4 separate regions of the Homo sapiens genome follow, and all the other regions are linked to region 1. Evidence: promoter capture Hi-C in 16 types of primary human blood cells and fetal thymus (Javierre and others, 2016). All regions are on one chromosome and are shown on one strand. The core of a region is centred on a gene start or on the middle of the fragment in contact, and the rest is flanking DNA. Distances in the headings are between cores, read along the strand shown.

The links. The method cuts DNA at HindIII sites, captures the fragments that hold promoters and counts their contacts. A CHiCAGO score of 5 or more calls a contact.
Region 2: a fragment that was not itself captured here is called in contact with the fragment with the promoter of SEMA7A in region 1 in 1 of 17 cell types (M1 macrophages); the score reaches 5.3 in M1 macrophages.
Region 3: a fragment that was not itself captured here is called in contact with the fragment with the promoter of SEMA7A in region 1 in 6 of 17 cell types (M0 macrophages, naive B cells, M1 macrophages and 3 more); the score reaches 7.4 in M0 macrophages.
Region 4: a contact is called between the fragment with the promoter of CYP1A2 here and the fragment with the promoter of SEMA7A in region 1, in 3 of 17 cell types (M0 macrophages, endothelial precursors and M1 macrophages). The highest score is 7.7, in M0 macrophages.

What each region holds. Positions count from the first base shown.
Region 1 is chr15:74,432,137-74,435,538 of GRCh38, reverse strand. It overlaps SEMA7A (semaphorin 7A (JohnMiltonHagen blood group)), which reads left to right and starts at 1,581. Exons shown (of 14, transcript NM_003612.5): 1 at 1,581-1,798. The coding sequence starts at 1,621. RefSeq lists silencers at 1,439-1,948, 1,999-2,148, 2,299-2,418. The HindIII fragment of the contact is 7,034 bases long and covers 1-3,254 here.
Region 2 is chr15:74,820,178-74,823,579 of GRCh38, reverse strand. LMAN1L (lectin, mannose binding 1 like) reads right to left here. Exons shown (of 14, transcript NM_021819.3): 8 at 2,813-2,945; 9 at 2,354-2,505; 10 at 1,680-1,751; 11 at 871-938; 12 at 1-21. Among named protein-coding and RNA genes, the nearest start is that of CPLX3, 4.7 kb to the left of the region's middle. RefSeq lists enhancers at 470-1,282, 2,097-2,910, 2,911-3,402. The HindIII fragment of the contact is 5,744 bases long and covers 1-3,402 here.
Region 3 is chr15:74,772,513-74,775,914 of GRCh38, reverse strand. No RefSeq gene overlaps it. Among named protein-coding and RNA genes, the nearest start is that of CSK, 7.9 kb to the left of the region's middle. RefSeq lists enhancers at 377-446, 467-576, 1,676-2,253, 3,210-3,402. The HindIII fragment of the contact is 2,186 bases long and covers 741-2,926 here.
Region 4 is chr15:74,747,361-74,750,762 of GRCh38, reverse strand. CYP1A2 (cytochrome P450 family 1 subfamily A member 2) reads right to left here and starts at 1,918. Exons shown (of 7, transcript NM_000761.5): 1 at 1,866-1,918; 2 at 194-1,033. The coding sequence starts at 1,024. RefSeq lists promoters at 1,025-2,162, 1,828-3,402 and a cis regulatory region at 3,249-3,402. The HindIII fragment of the contact is 9,803 bases long and covers 1-3,402 here.

The DNA of each region.
Region 1 (3,402 bases), core at 332-2,831:
GAGGACAGACACTGAGGGCAATACCTGTCTAGCAGGTGAAACCGAATGTCCATCTTAGAGGCTGGCCTGGGCCAGGCTCCACTGCTGGCTTCAGGGCCACAGGCTTAGGTGCAGGCCTGAGGAGGAGCTCTTAGACTGTCCACAGCCTCCCTCTCTGGGGCAGTGTGCCCCTGTGTATCAGGAGGCTGTTGGCTTCACCCAGTGGGCCAGGAACCTCACTCTGCACTGTCTCTGGAGGTACCTTGAGTTTACCTTCCTGGCCTGCTGGGGTGCCTCAGGACTCTGAGGGAAGAAGGAGGGGACAACTGGAAGCAAAATGTAGAATGGTAAAGCCAAACTTCTTGGTAGCAAAACTTTCCTGGTTCCAGGAGGTAAAAACAACAACCAAATGGTCCTGGCCCCATGGAGCAGGGCAGAGGGCAGAGGGCAGCCAGCCCACCGCCTTTGCTGGTGTCTGCAGTGCGTGAATCGTGTCTAGGTCTGTGAGTTCTGAAGGTTGGATGTTCACCTCTACTCCTTCCTCGGCCTGTCTCCTCTCAGTGCAGCTAGACATCCAGTAAACACTAGATAAGTACTTACTGAGCTGGGTGGATTTTCCATTCATGGTTCCCTGGGGCACAAGTGGAAGTGGTAGGTCTGGGCCCTGTCTGGTCTAGAGAGAGGAGACCCTTTTACAAAGGGCAGGCACGTAGTTCTGAGAGGAGGAGCTGATGGCAGAGCTGGCTGGACTGCTCAGGTAACTGCAGAGGGTCTGGGCCTGGACCCCCCAAGGGAGTCCCCACTGAATGGTCAGGTTGCCTGAGATAGCTGAGCCCTAGGCACTTTGCGGGCAGAGATCCCCTTAAGCTGCTTTGACCCTCCCTCCCCCACAGTGAGTGGGGCACGGGGGATGCTCCCCTCTCTACTTGGGGAAGGGGCCTTCCTAATTATATCCCCCTCCACTCACATGGAAATGAGTTTGGATTTTCTGAGCGTACACCAGCTGGCTTGGGGGGAGGCAGCCCAGAAGGCTGCTGGCTGGGAAAGGGAGGAGAAAGGAGAGGGAGGGGAAGGAGCCAGGCCAAGATGAAAAATTTCCAGTGTTCTCCCAGGCAAAGCAACAGCGGGTCCCTGAGTGCTCCCCACATATCATCGTTGTGCCTGCTGGTAGGCTCAGCAGGGAGCCGTGTCCACTTAGGCGAACGCATCCTCCGAGGACCATAGTCCTCAGGGTGCGAACCACTTAGCTGGCCATAGCAAGGTTGTTGGGTGTTGGACTCCTCTGCGCCCTTGGAGAGAGGTCCTCCACGACTTCTACGCCAATCTTTTTACGGGGTGCGGGGAGTGGAACTGAGGCCCAGAGAGGGGATAGGGCCTGCCGCCCCTGGCAGAAGACCACAAGTCTGGCTTGTCCGCAGCTGGGCTTTCCCCGTAGAGTTGCCCGGGAGAGGGTGGCGAAGGTTCCCCCAGCAGTTCCGCTCTCGCTCAGGAAAGCCAGTGAGGCGAGAAAAGGCTGCGAGGGGCGGGGGGAGGGGCGGGGTGGGGTCAGCGCTGGCTCCGCCTCCTGGCGCTTGGGTCTGCCTGCGGCCGGGCGCTGGCTCAGTCTCGGCTGATTGCCGCTGTCGCTCCCGGGGCCACGGGATGACGCCTCCTCCGCCCGGACGTGCCGCCCCCAGCGCACCGCGCGCCCGCGTCCCTGGCCCGCCGGCTCGGTTGGGGCTTCCGCTGCGGCTGCGGCTGCTGCTGCTGCTCTGGGCGGCCGCCGCCTCCGCCCAGGGCCACCTAAGGAGCGGACCCCGCATCTTCGCCGTCTGGAAAGGTAGGCGGCGCCGCGCGGCCGGTCAGGCGCGGGATCAGACGCTGCGCGGGGCGGGTGCGGAGTGTGCTGCACCCGGAGGGAGTGCGTGCGCGCAGCTCTGCGGGTCCCGGGCTGTCCCCGCGCTGTCCCCGCGTGGAGCGTGTGGGTTTGGGTGAGTGTGTGTGAGTGTACACGCTGGCACACCAGAGCCGGCTGTAACGCTGCGGCGAGCGAGCGGCGGGGGCCGGAGCCCCGGCTAAGTCGCACCAAGTCCCTGGCAGCCAGGAGCCGCAACGCCCGGGCGCCAGGGGAGGGGGCGGGCCCCTCTCTCGGCCCCGAGCCACTCTGGGTCCTCTGGCTCGGGGGCTTCGGCGGAGGACCTTTCCCCGCCTGGGACCCCAACCCGGGTACCCTCCTTTTGAGCTGCGGGCTCTGCTGGCGCGCGGGGCGCAGGCTGGGCCGGCAAGGGGGGCGCGGACCCCTTGCCGCCGCCGCCGCGCTTCGGCAGCGGGAACAAAGACCCCGCCGCCTGCCCCCGCCCCCGCCCCGGCCCGGAGCTCGGGCCAGGCAAGGGGGTGGGCATCCTGCAGCGAGCGGCGGGACATGGTGCGGTGCGGCGGCTTGGGGTACCAGGGCGCTGCCTCAGCAATGCCGGGACCGGCCGCTCCCCCCTTGCCCGCACGTGGCAGTTGTCACCAGAAATCGGCTCCAGCGTTGGGGGGCAGTGCCCGTTGGGTGGGGCACGGCCGTTGGGACCCCCAGGCGGTGGATCTAGGGCGGGGGTGCAGCCTTTAGGCCAGGGTAGATAATAAGAACCTGGGGGACTGGAGTCTCCCCCAGGGCACCTCAGTTTAGACCCTGTACTATGGGACAGAAAGCCGGTTAGGCGGGGGTTTGAGGCTTTCTGCCGCGAGGAACTGATCTCCCCTCCCCTGCATTGCACACAAATGCCTCCCCGCCCCCAGTCCGATTCGGCTCTGTCCCCAAATTTGGCGTGTCTGCGGCCCCCCTGTCGTGATGGTGGGGGACTCGCAGTGGGGGCTGGGGGAACTGGTCGGGTCTGGCCCCACCGGGAGCCTTTTGATGCCTTTGGCAGTTTGCAGGGATTGCGGGAGTCTGAGCATTATCTGGGGCAGGTATTATTAGCAGAGGGGAAAAAAAACCATACACAAAACGAGTGGCCCGAACTGCCGCAGTAGCTGAGGGAATGTGACTTGCCCAAGGTCACTGAGCAGTGTGGGAGCCCAGGTGCAGGCAGGGGCTCTGATCTGGCACAGGACCAGTCCAGGTTCTGGGTTAGGGAGGGGAGAAGGATTTAGGTGGTTCAGGGACCATGAATGAGGTGCTCTGGGGACCAGCTCGGCTACCCAGCCTGAGGTGCTCCTGGAGGAAGCCGAGCAGTGCTGCTAGAGCTCCGGCCGCCTGTACATGGAGGAGGCCTGCACACCCCTCTGCCATCCCAGCTCCAGCCCAAGCTTCCTTTGCCCTCCCAGCAGCTTTGCCTTCCCTCAGTCTCCTTGGCTGTCTTGGACATCATAGCGTGTGGGCACTCTGGAGGGGACAAATGGCCACATCTGAGTGTTCTGGAATCTTTCCCTCCATCAAACCCCTTGCATTTTGACTCT
Region 2 (3,402 bases), core at 1-2,500, 390 kb before region 1:
GCCATGCGGACAGCTGCATCCCTAACCGGGGGTGGTAACCAAGTAAGATGACTCATTACCTCTTCTGCTTCCACCCAGATGGCCTAATCATTTCCCATCTCCCCAAGGGCAGCACATGGATGGGGAACAGGTACCATCCATGGGGCCCCTTCTTGGGGGCTGGTCTTTTCACCTCCAACCTTCTTCCTAGATCCTGAGACTTTAGCTCAGATAAAGATCTCCCTAAAGCTATCTGTGTCAACCCCAGGCTCCCCGGCTCTGCCTTCCATTCCCAGCCCCTGGGGATTTAACTCCTTTCCTTCTTCTCATCTAGGTGCCTCTCCACCCCCAACCCTAGGCATCTAGCTGTGTGTGTACAGGTGGGGCTTTAGGCTTCAGCCTGGGATGCATGCCTCCTCCACAGCATCCCCAGGACTCCCCCAACCCCCAGGGCTCCAGAGGCCTGGCCTAGAGTGGGATACCGGGAAGTTAATGGGGGCACAAAACCAAGTCAGGGACTGTCTCATCCAACTGGTCTGATCTTGGCTGTGCTCCCTCTCCAAGAGCCCCCAACAAAATGCCCCTCATCCTAGGAGCTGCCATTGAAGGAATGCTCAGATTTCTTAAGCCTCCTGAGGGTGGGAGTGTCTGAGGGGGCCTTCATGATGGGCTTCTCCAGGAGAGAATTGCTTTTTAACTAGGACTTGCAAAACATTAAACTTGATTCAATTAAATTCAAGTCAACTCAACAAACCTAACTCCACCAGTAGCCCTTCCAATTGACAGGCTGTGTGCTGGGCGCTCAGGAAATGATGGAAGGAATGAAGGGCTAATGGAGGAACTTAAGGCGGAGAAACAAGGTGGTGGAGGGGTCCCCACCCAGTCCCTTACCTCATCTCTTGCAGGGCCTGGAGCAGAGTCCACTGTCCATGGAGCAGGGCACCGACCTTGGCAGAGTCCTGCAGAGGGGCAGCCTCTTGTCTAGGGCCCAGGACATAGCCCCTCTCTTCTCAGAGCCCACCTTCCCAGCGGCACTGCAGCCTCTTCCTTCCAGAGGCCTTCCCAGATTACCAGGGCCTCCTTATTTGGACACACTGTGTTTCTCTGACCTCATCCATAAGGGCATCCACATTCCCCCTCCACTCACGCCCCTCTCCCCAGGGGTGGTTGTTTCCTCCCAACAGTGGCCACTTCAGGGTTTTCTCAAAATACTTCTCCCTTCTTATTTATTTATTTGAGATGGAGTCTTGCTCTGCGGCCAGGCTGGAGTGCAGTGGCACAATCTCAGCTCACTGCTACCTCTGCCTCCTGGGTTCAAGCGATTCTTCTGCCTCAGCCTCCCAAGTAGCTGGGACTACAGATGCATGCCACCACGCCCAGCTAATTTTTGTATAATTTTTGTATTTTCAGTAGAGACAGGGTTTCACCATGTTGGCCAGGATGGTCTCGATCTTTTGACCTTGTGATCTGCCCGATGGTGTCAGTCTTTTGACCTCGTGATCTGTCCGCCTTGGCCTCCCAAAGTGCTAGGATTACACGCGTGAGCCACCATGCCAAGCCAAAATACGTCTCCCTTCTAAAAGTGGTTCTGTCCCCTGAAGGAAGCAGAGGCCCAGCCCAGTCCTCTCTGCCCTGGTTCTCCCAGAGCACCAGCCAAGCTGGGGCCAGTGCTGGTCAACACCCAGTGTTTGGGTCCCTACCTTATTGAGTGACATGGAGAGGTGGCCACCCCTCCCTGGGGTGGATGGAATCTGGCAGGAAGCATCCAGGGCCTGGGGATAGGATCAGAGAGGCTTGGCCCTGGAGTGTAAGTCCCCTCCCCTCTTCCCCACACTAGCAGCCCAGCCTAAGCTGCTCTGACACAAGATTAAAACCTCGAGCTGTCAGAGCCCAGCAAAGCCCACAAGAGCTGCTGGCCTCCTCTGCCCAGTATCTAACACCTTGGCTGAGTTTAGCTCTCAGGCCCCCAGGCTGGGCATGACCCGAGTTATGACTCCCTGGGGGAGGAGCCAGATGGCAATGGAGATGCAATGAGGCTTCTGGTGCAACTGAGCATTAAGCAAGCCCTATGCAAATCGCATGTGAAGCTACATGCAAATTAGCACCTAGTCTATTTCTGTCATTCATCTACAGAGCTGAGTCCAAATAGCTGGCATCTCCTCTCCCCAGCCCCAGCCTCAGCCCCAGCCCCGTGCGCATTTGCTTGTGCAGAGATGCCATCCTGCATGCTGCCCTGCCCCATCCTGTGACCTGCAGCATTTCATCCCTGCCTTCCTTTCCCTCCAGGCCTTAGGGGAGACTAGTTGCTGACTACAGTGCTTGCTCCTCTTTCAGGCCCGCAGGTGGAGCCTTGGATGCCTGTAGGGCTTCTCACCCAGCCTCCGTCAGGCCTGGCTTGGCCTGGGGGCCCCAGCTGCTTCTTCCATTGTCTCTCAGCCTGGGCCAGCTGCTTGGAGAGACCCCGCAGAGCCTGCAGGATCCGGCGGTGTCTGCCCAGCGTCTCCTCCAGGTCAAAGAGCCTTTCCCCTGGGGATTAGGGCAGAGCTGGGATGGGCAGCCAGCCATGGTGGGGTAACACAGCCTATCTTATCTTTGGGGTGGCTTCTTGGAGAGGGGTGCCAGAAGGTGTGGCTGCTGCCTCCAAGACCCTCTCCTGGAAGATGAGTCTGAGTGGTAAGGTGGGGATAGCACAGAACACTTGGGCCCAGGGCCTGCTTAGATGTGGCCTCCTCAGGCCTCAGTTTCCCTACTGATTAAAGGACCCCTGGTCATAAGGGTGGAGGATGCTGTGACACTCAGATGGGCGCCACCTGCCCGCTCTCTCGGTCCCTACCTTCTCCTTGAGCTTCAGAGTCTGATTTTGGAGTTACATCCTCCCTGGTGCCCAAGCCCAGCCTTGCCCACAGCCCTTCCAGCTGCCTCGCCAGGCGGAGCTGCTGCATCTCCAGGAAGGGCTGAGGGGGAACCTAGGGGAGGAAGACAGAAAGTCGGGCCCCAAACCCATGGGAGATCCAGAAGCAAGGGGAGCCTTCCCACAGGCTTCCCCACGAGCCCAGCCTTCCTCCCTGGCCAGCTGGCCCTGCAGTTTCCAGCCCTCTGAGTTCTGCCTTCACGCAGATCCCCACCATCTTCCCTCCCTGCTGTGGCCTCAAGCCTATATGTGCTGGTCCGAGGCTCCTTTAAGCTCATCTCCTCCAGGCAGCCTTCCTTGACCCCCTGGCTGGTTGGGACTCCTCCTCTGTGCTCCCACAGCCCCCTGCACCTTTTGAGACCTGGCACTGATCGCTCTGAACTGTAATGTCACAGCCTGAGCCAGCCAGCCTGCGAGACCTCACACACCGGCCCTGGCCCGCAGCACTGCCCTGCACAAGGTCTGGCCTGAGCAGAGCTCAGAGGCCAGGTGGAGGTAAGGGCTGGAATGGC
Region 3 (3,402 bases), core at 584-3,083, 340 kb before region 1:
GATTTGTTGGCTTGGTGGCTTGAGTGGTGTGGTGGTGACCCAACTGAGAGGCCACTGGGAACTGGAGGACCCCACCCTCGGGGCCTGAGGCAGCCAGCACTCAGGGGTTAACTGGCAGACCCCTGATCGCAAAGGTTTTGGGTCCTGGGCTTCCTGGTTTGATATCTCCCTAGAGAGGGCAGATCCAGAGCCAAGTCTATGACAAGAGTTCGCCAAGGTGCCTGGGATCCCTGCAGGCTGTCCCAGCGCCTCCCCCACGCACACGATTCCCTCCTCCTGGGTCCCTATCTTCTTGGAATGTTCTGTCTTGTGGGGGCAGAGGTGTTCAACAAGGCGAGGCAAGTTCCCAGAGGATTGTGCAAGTGCAGTGTGAGTGCGGAGCAGAGACCTCTCCTCACCTGAGCACTCAGACCCTGCAGGAGGAGAGGTGGTGCCTGGGGGCCTGGCAGAGGGGGCAACAGGAGCAGAGGCCCTGGAACTGGAAGGGATTGAGCTTTGGGCAAAAGGAAAACAGGCCAGGATGGGATGGGGTCAGAGCCTTGGAAGCAGAGGCGCAAATGGCCAGAGCCTGTAGGATCCCCTGTGGAATAGGGGAGTCTTTGGACTTCATCCTTAGGGCATCGGGGCCCCGCCCCCATGCTATTTGAGGGTTCACCACAGCCTCAGCTGATCAGATTTGCATGTTAAAAATATTACTTCTGCTTCTGGTTGGAGAATTGACTGGCTGTCCTCGGGAAGCTTTGATGACCTCTTCCCACATCCCAAGGCTGGAAGCCTCCCCTCTGCTATTGTCCCTCACTGGCCCACTTCTTAGTATTATAGCACTGACTACCCACTTCGTATTTGTGTCCTGATCGGCTGCTGGAGGCTGAATCCTGGTACTCAAACGTTTGTTGAATGAATAAGTGATATGAATTTCAATTAATAATAATAATAATAGGCAATGCTAATGTAGGTGTTGCATGTGCTAGCATCATTCTAAGCATTTTACGTGTCTTTTTGTTTGTTTGTTTTTGAGACAGAGTCTTGCTCTGTTGCCCAGGCTGTAGTGCAGTGGTGCGATCTCATCTCCTGCAACCTCCACTGCCACCCCCCTCCCCCCACCCTGGGTTCAAGTGATTCTCCCACCTCAGCCTCCCAGCAAGTAGCTGGGACCACAGGCACATGCGTGCCATCACACCCAGCTAATTTTTGTATTTTTAGTAGAGACAGGGTTTCGCCATCTTGGCCAGGCTGGTCTGGAGCTCCTGAGCTCAAGTGATCCACCTGCCTTGGCCTCCCAAAGTGCTGGGATTACAGGTGTGAGCCACCGCACCCTGCTGTTTACTTTTTTTTTGAGAAAGGGTCTCCCTATGTGCCTAGGATGGTTTTGGAGCTTCTAGGCTCAAGCAATCCTTCTGCCTCAGCCTCTCAGAGTAGCTGGGACTACAGGGGCCTGCCTGGCTATTCTACATGTCTTAAGTTTCATTTGATCCTCCCAATCTCTTTACAATGTAGATATTATTATTACTTCTATTTGCAGATAAGAAAACTAAAGAGGGATTTAAGGAGGACACAGTCACCAGATCCCAGCTGGGGGAAAAGGGACCCGGGATGCCACCACATCATTCTTGCTCAATTTATTACAAAGTCTTCCAGGTTGGAGTCCTGGCTGCACCCCATCCCAGCCTTGTGACCTTAAGCAAAAGTCACTGAACCTTTCTGAGCCTCAGTTTCCTCATCTCTAAAGTGGGACTGAGAGGACCCATGTCACAGGGGACTTATGCTAAACCGAGATGATGTAAAGTTGCTTGCTTAGCAGGGTTCTTTGACACAAGGCAGACTTTCACACCACGGCAGTTAGATGAATATTTTTTCTCTCACTCCTGAAACAGGCTTTGTAGTTCTGGCTCTCCCCTGCTGGGTTCAGTCGGGCTTTCCAAGGGTAGGGCCAGGCCTTTTGTCTGTTCCTAGGCCTACAGTTTCGCAATGGCTGATGAATTGAAAACCCTCATTCATCCATTCACTAAATATTGAGGGCGTGTTTACTACCTTCCAGGCACTGGAGCAGCTGGAATTGGGCAGAGCCAGAGCTACCTGGTTCCCACCTGGAGTCCTGGGCTCACAGCAGGCTGACATATCTCCCTCAATGCTGTCAGGGGTCACTTTTGTGCTGAACCCAATAGTCCCCAGGCTCTGCCTTGCTGACTGGAAGCCGCAGTTGGCACTGTTCTGGCTTTCCTCCTGGGAACTCTTTGGGCGAAAGCAGGAAAAGAGGCCCTGGGGTTCTCTGCAGTGCAAAGGTTAGAGACCTGGCCCAAGGTGGGGCAGGTGAGAAGGAGCAGGAGGTCTGCTCTGCGAGGGCTGGGAAGAGAGAGCAACTGGGCACTGGTGAGCCTCAGGCCCAGCTTTTGCAAAACCCATGCAAATGCCCCCGCCCAGGTGTTACACCTGTGAAGAAACCTGTGTGCCAACATTGTCCCTGTCAGAGATCAGAGGAGCTTTTGAAAGACCTCCTTGCCTGATTGGGGGTGGGGTGGAACTGGGCTGGGGGCTGGGGCCAGGGATAGATACTCCCTGAGCCGGAGGAGACTTTGGAAGCCCCAGTGAGTCAGGGATGAGGCCTGGAGGGCCCTTTGTCAGGGGACTCCAGAGGACCTGGAGGGAAATGCCCCTTCCTTTTGGCCCGTAAGACCCCCAGAATTTCCTTCTAGAGAGTGTGTGTTTGGGTGAGGTGAGCTCCGTGAGGACAGGGACTGGCTCCCTTTCTTCTGTCTCTCCATGGGAAGGCACAGAGCCTGTAGCCATAAATGTGTGCTGAATGAATACGTGAGTGACCAGATTTTCCCCCGGGGGTCTCAGGGCTCCCGTTCCAAGGAGAAGCTCCTTGCCTGCATCCCTATTGCCCGCGCCCCAGTCTATCTTCTTGAATCCCTAACTGGAAGCTTTGGGTCTCCAGGAGTGCTCTCCTGACATTGAGGTAGCCCCGGGAGGTCCCAGTCACCTCTCCCTCCAGCCAGGGTCAGTTCCTTCTTTTCTTTTTTTTCTTTTATTTTGAGACAGAGTCTCACTTTGTCGCCCAGGCTGGAGTGTAGTAGAGCGATCTTGGCTCCCTGCAAGCTCCATCTCCCAGGTTCAAGTGATTCTCCTGCCTTAGCCTCCTGAGTAGCTGGGACTACAGGCGTGTGCCACTATGCCTGGCTAATTTTTGTATTTTCAGTAGAGATGGGGTTTCACCATGTTGGCCGGGCTGGTCTTGAGAAATCCTGACCTCAAGTGATCCACCTGCCTCGCCCTCCCAAAGTGCTGGGATTACGGTGTGAGCCACCGAACCCAGGGCCGATCCTTTTTTTTTTTTTCTGAGACAGGGTCTTGCTCTGTCACCCAGGCTGGAGTACAGTGGTGCGATATCAGCTCACTGCA
Region 4 (3,402 bases), core at 669-3,168, 310 kb before region 1:
GGCTTCAAGGATGAGGAAACTGAGGCCCAGAGAAGGGGAAGAGTCGGCTCCAGGTCACACAGCTGGTCTGAGGTGTCCAGAGCCTTCCTAGGCCTTGGCAACACAGCAGCTGTGTGGGCATGCTGGAGCTGGGAGGGAGGGGCTGCACCCAGGCCCTGCAAGGTGCCCCTTGCCACCTGCACCCCGGGCTCACCTTGTCAAAGTCCTGATAGTGCTCCTGGACTGTTTTCTGCAGGAACCACAGGAACCTCTGGTTGAAGGCCTTGAACCTCTGCAGGGCAGGGTTAGGCAGGTAGCGAAGGATGGGGAAGAAGTCCAGGGGGTTCCCGGAGGAGGCAGTCTCCACGAACTCATGAGTGTTCTTCACGAGGCTGAGCATCTCATCGCTACTCTCAGGGAAGTGCTGTCCGAAGCACATGGCACCAATGACGTTGGCCACTGACACCACCACCTGATTGTAAGGGTCGAAGTGCCCAGGCCCTGCCATCAGCTCCTGCAACCTGCTGATCAGGGCCTTAGCCTCCTTGCTCACATGCTCCTCCAGGTAGCAGGAGGATGAGGAAGCTGGGTCAGAGGCGATGGAGAAGGTGTTGAGGGCATTCTGGGCCAGGCGCCGGCGGGCAGCCCACACCGGTCCAGAGTCTGTGCTGAAGGTCAAGCTCTGGCCATCAGTGATGAGGGTGGAGGTGTAGAGGTCAGGCCGGCCCTTGAAATCGTCGCCCTGCCGCACCAGGGCCTGCCGGATGGTGTCCAGGCGGCTCAGCACCAGCACGGGCGTGGAGCCAATGCGGATCTGCAGGACGTCCCCGTAGCGCTGGCTCATCCTTGACAGTGCCAGGTGCGGGTTCTTCCCCAGGGTCAGCACATGCCCGAGCAAGGGCCAGCCCCATGGCTCTGGTGGACTTTTCAGGCCTTTGGGGACCCGAGGCCTCAAACCCTTGAGCACCCAGAATACCAGGCAGAAGATGGCAGAGGCCAGGAGAAGCTCTGTGGCCGAGAAGGGAACAGACTGGGACAATGCCATCTGTACCAACTGCAGGGAAAAAAGGAGGGACCAGGCTGAGGGTTGAGATGGAGACATTCATTCATTCATTTCCTCAGTCATTTGATAAACACTGATGCGTGTTCTGTGCTTGGCTCCCAGCTGGATACCAGAAAGACTAAGCTCCATCTACCATGCGTCCTGGGCCCACAGAGCTCACCCTTTGAGCATCACAGAATCTGAGAGCTGGAAAGGAGCCTCAAGATTCCCAACATGAACGCTGGCTCTCTCCTCCACACATCATCTCAGTTTCCACTTCTGGGGCTGGAGTAGAGGCAAGTGACCACTCCAAAATGGGGAAGCCAAGGACAGCACCCTTGTCAGCCCCTGGCACAGCATGCATGCTGGGTATTGTACCAAAGAGTCCCTGCCAGTGCTGGCTTTCTGCTGATACCTTCCATATACCCAAGGGACCAGGAGTTCCCCCTACCCAGTGACACTGAGGTGGCCAAGGTCCCAGGGCTGGTTCAAATAGCCTGTGATGCCCCCTCCCCAGGGCATTCTTTATCAATACCAGGAGGGGCACCTCCTCCAGGGATGAGTCCCCATCCTCTCACAGTCTTGGAGGTTGGGGTTGGGCTTCAGCCAGGGCCAGGGCTGCCCTTGTGCTAAGGGGGAAGCCCTCCCCATCGCTCTCCTTAAAAATGGCTTAGTCCAAACTGCTCATTTAAAATCGGGAAACAGAAGTCAAGAGCTGGGTAGCAAAGCCCGGAACTCAGGACCCCTACACCTAGCCCAGGCTCCCCGTCTTTCTGTCCCCACTAGCTTCCAGGTTCTATAGTTGGGGATCCCAGAGATTGTAAATTGGTCCCAAGAAAGGTACCTGTAGAGGCAGGTGCTTGAGATTGGCAGGGTTGTAATGGCTGGTGTGGAGCTTCTGGCTCTAGGTGAGTGGCCTTTTTATAAACACCGCCCCCTATCAGATTGGCCTGGTTGTCCTGATCACCTGATATGAAAGCTGGATCACTGAACAAAGTTGGAAGGATCAACTCTTGGCCTTGGGCCATTATCCCTCAGCTCCACCTACTACCTAAGACCCAGGGTGACTCTTTGGGGATAGGCCAGAAGGGGTGCTGGGTCCCTGGGGATGAAGGTACAGCTGTCTTTAGGGTTCAGGGTAGGGAGCCTATTTCTCTGAAGAGTAGGGTAGGGTCTGGGAGTGGGGGTTAGGCCTTTGGACTGATCTGGGCTTCTTTCCCACTGCACACATGAGGAAGAGCTCTGCCAGGGCACTCAGTCTAGGCCAACCAGGCTCACGGCCCCTCTCCAGAGGGATGTTCTTCTGTAGTACCCTCCAACAACCTGCAAAACCAAACAGTAAATGGGCGTGTTCCAGCCACTCCTGATTTTCAGCCCAAGTCCCCAAGTGGAAAAGAAGAGATGATAAAGATTTTGCATCCTAAAGAGAGGCCCCCCTTATGCAAAAAGACTAAGAGACATAACCAAATGCAATATGGATTTGCATTTGATTGCCATATCGATTGGATATGGCATTTAAACAAAATTTTAAAAAAATCTATAAAAGATGTTTTGGGGACAATTGGGGACATGTAAGCACGGACTGGAGATTAGATGATATTCTGGAATAAATGTAAATTTTTTTAGGTGTGAACAGAGTGTCATGGTATGTGGGAGTGTATCCTTATTCTTAGGAGATTAATGCTGTAGCATGGAAGTGTCATGATCCCCACAACCTCCTTTTGAATGGTTCTGTTAAAAAATGTACACCTCTAGGCCAGGCGCGATGGCTCGCACCTGTAATCCCAGCACTTTGAGAGGCCGAGATGGGCGGATCACCTGAGATCAGGTGTTCAAGACCAGCCTGGCCAACCTGGTGAAACTCCGTCTCTACTAAAAATACAAAAATTAGCCAGGCATGGTGGCATGTGCCTGTGATCCCAGCTACTCGGGAGGCTGAGGCAGGAGAATGGCTTGAACTTGGGAGGTGGAGGCTGCAGTGAGCCAAGATCGTGCCACTCCACTCCAGCCTGGGCGACAGAGTGAGACTCCGTCTCAAAAAAAAAAAAAATGTACACCTTTAAAGAGTGTAATTGGATTGTTTGTAACTCAAAGGTTTATCCTTGCTTGAGGGGATGGATACTCCATTCTCCATGAATGCTTATTTCATATTGCATGCCTGTATCAAAACATTTCATGTACCCCATACATATATACACCTACTATGTACCCATAAAATTAAAACAATGTATACCTATCTATCAATAAATCGAGAGAAAGTAGATATGAGAAATGTCAGATATTCATGGACTTACGTGAGGATATATGGTGTTTGTTGTACTAAAGGAGTCTTTAATATGGACCCAGATCTCAGTCAGATCTAAGAGGAGGAGGAGGACAAG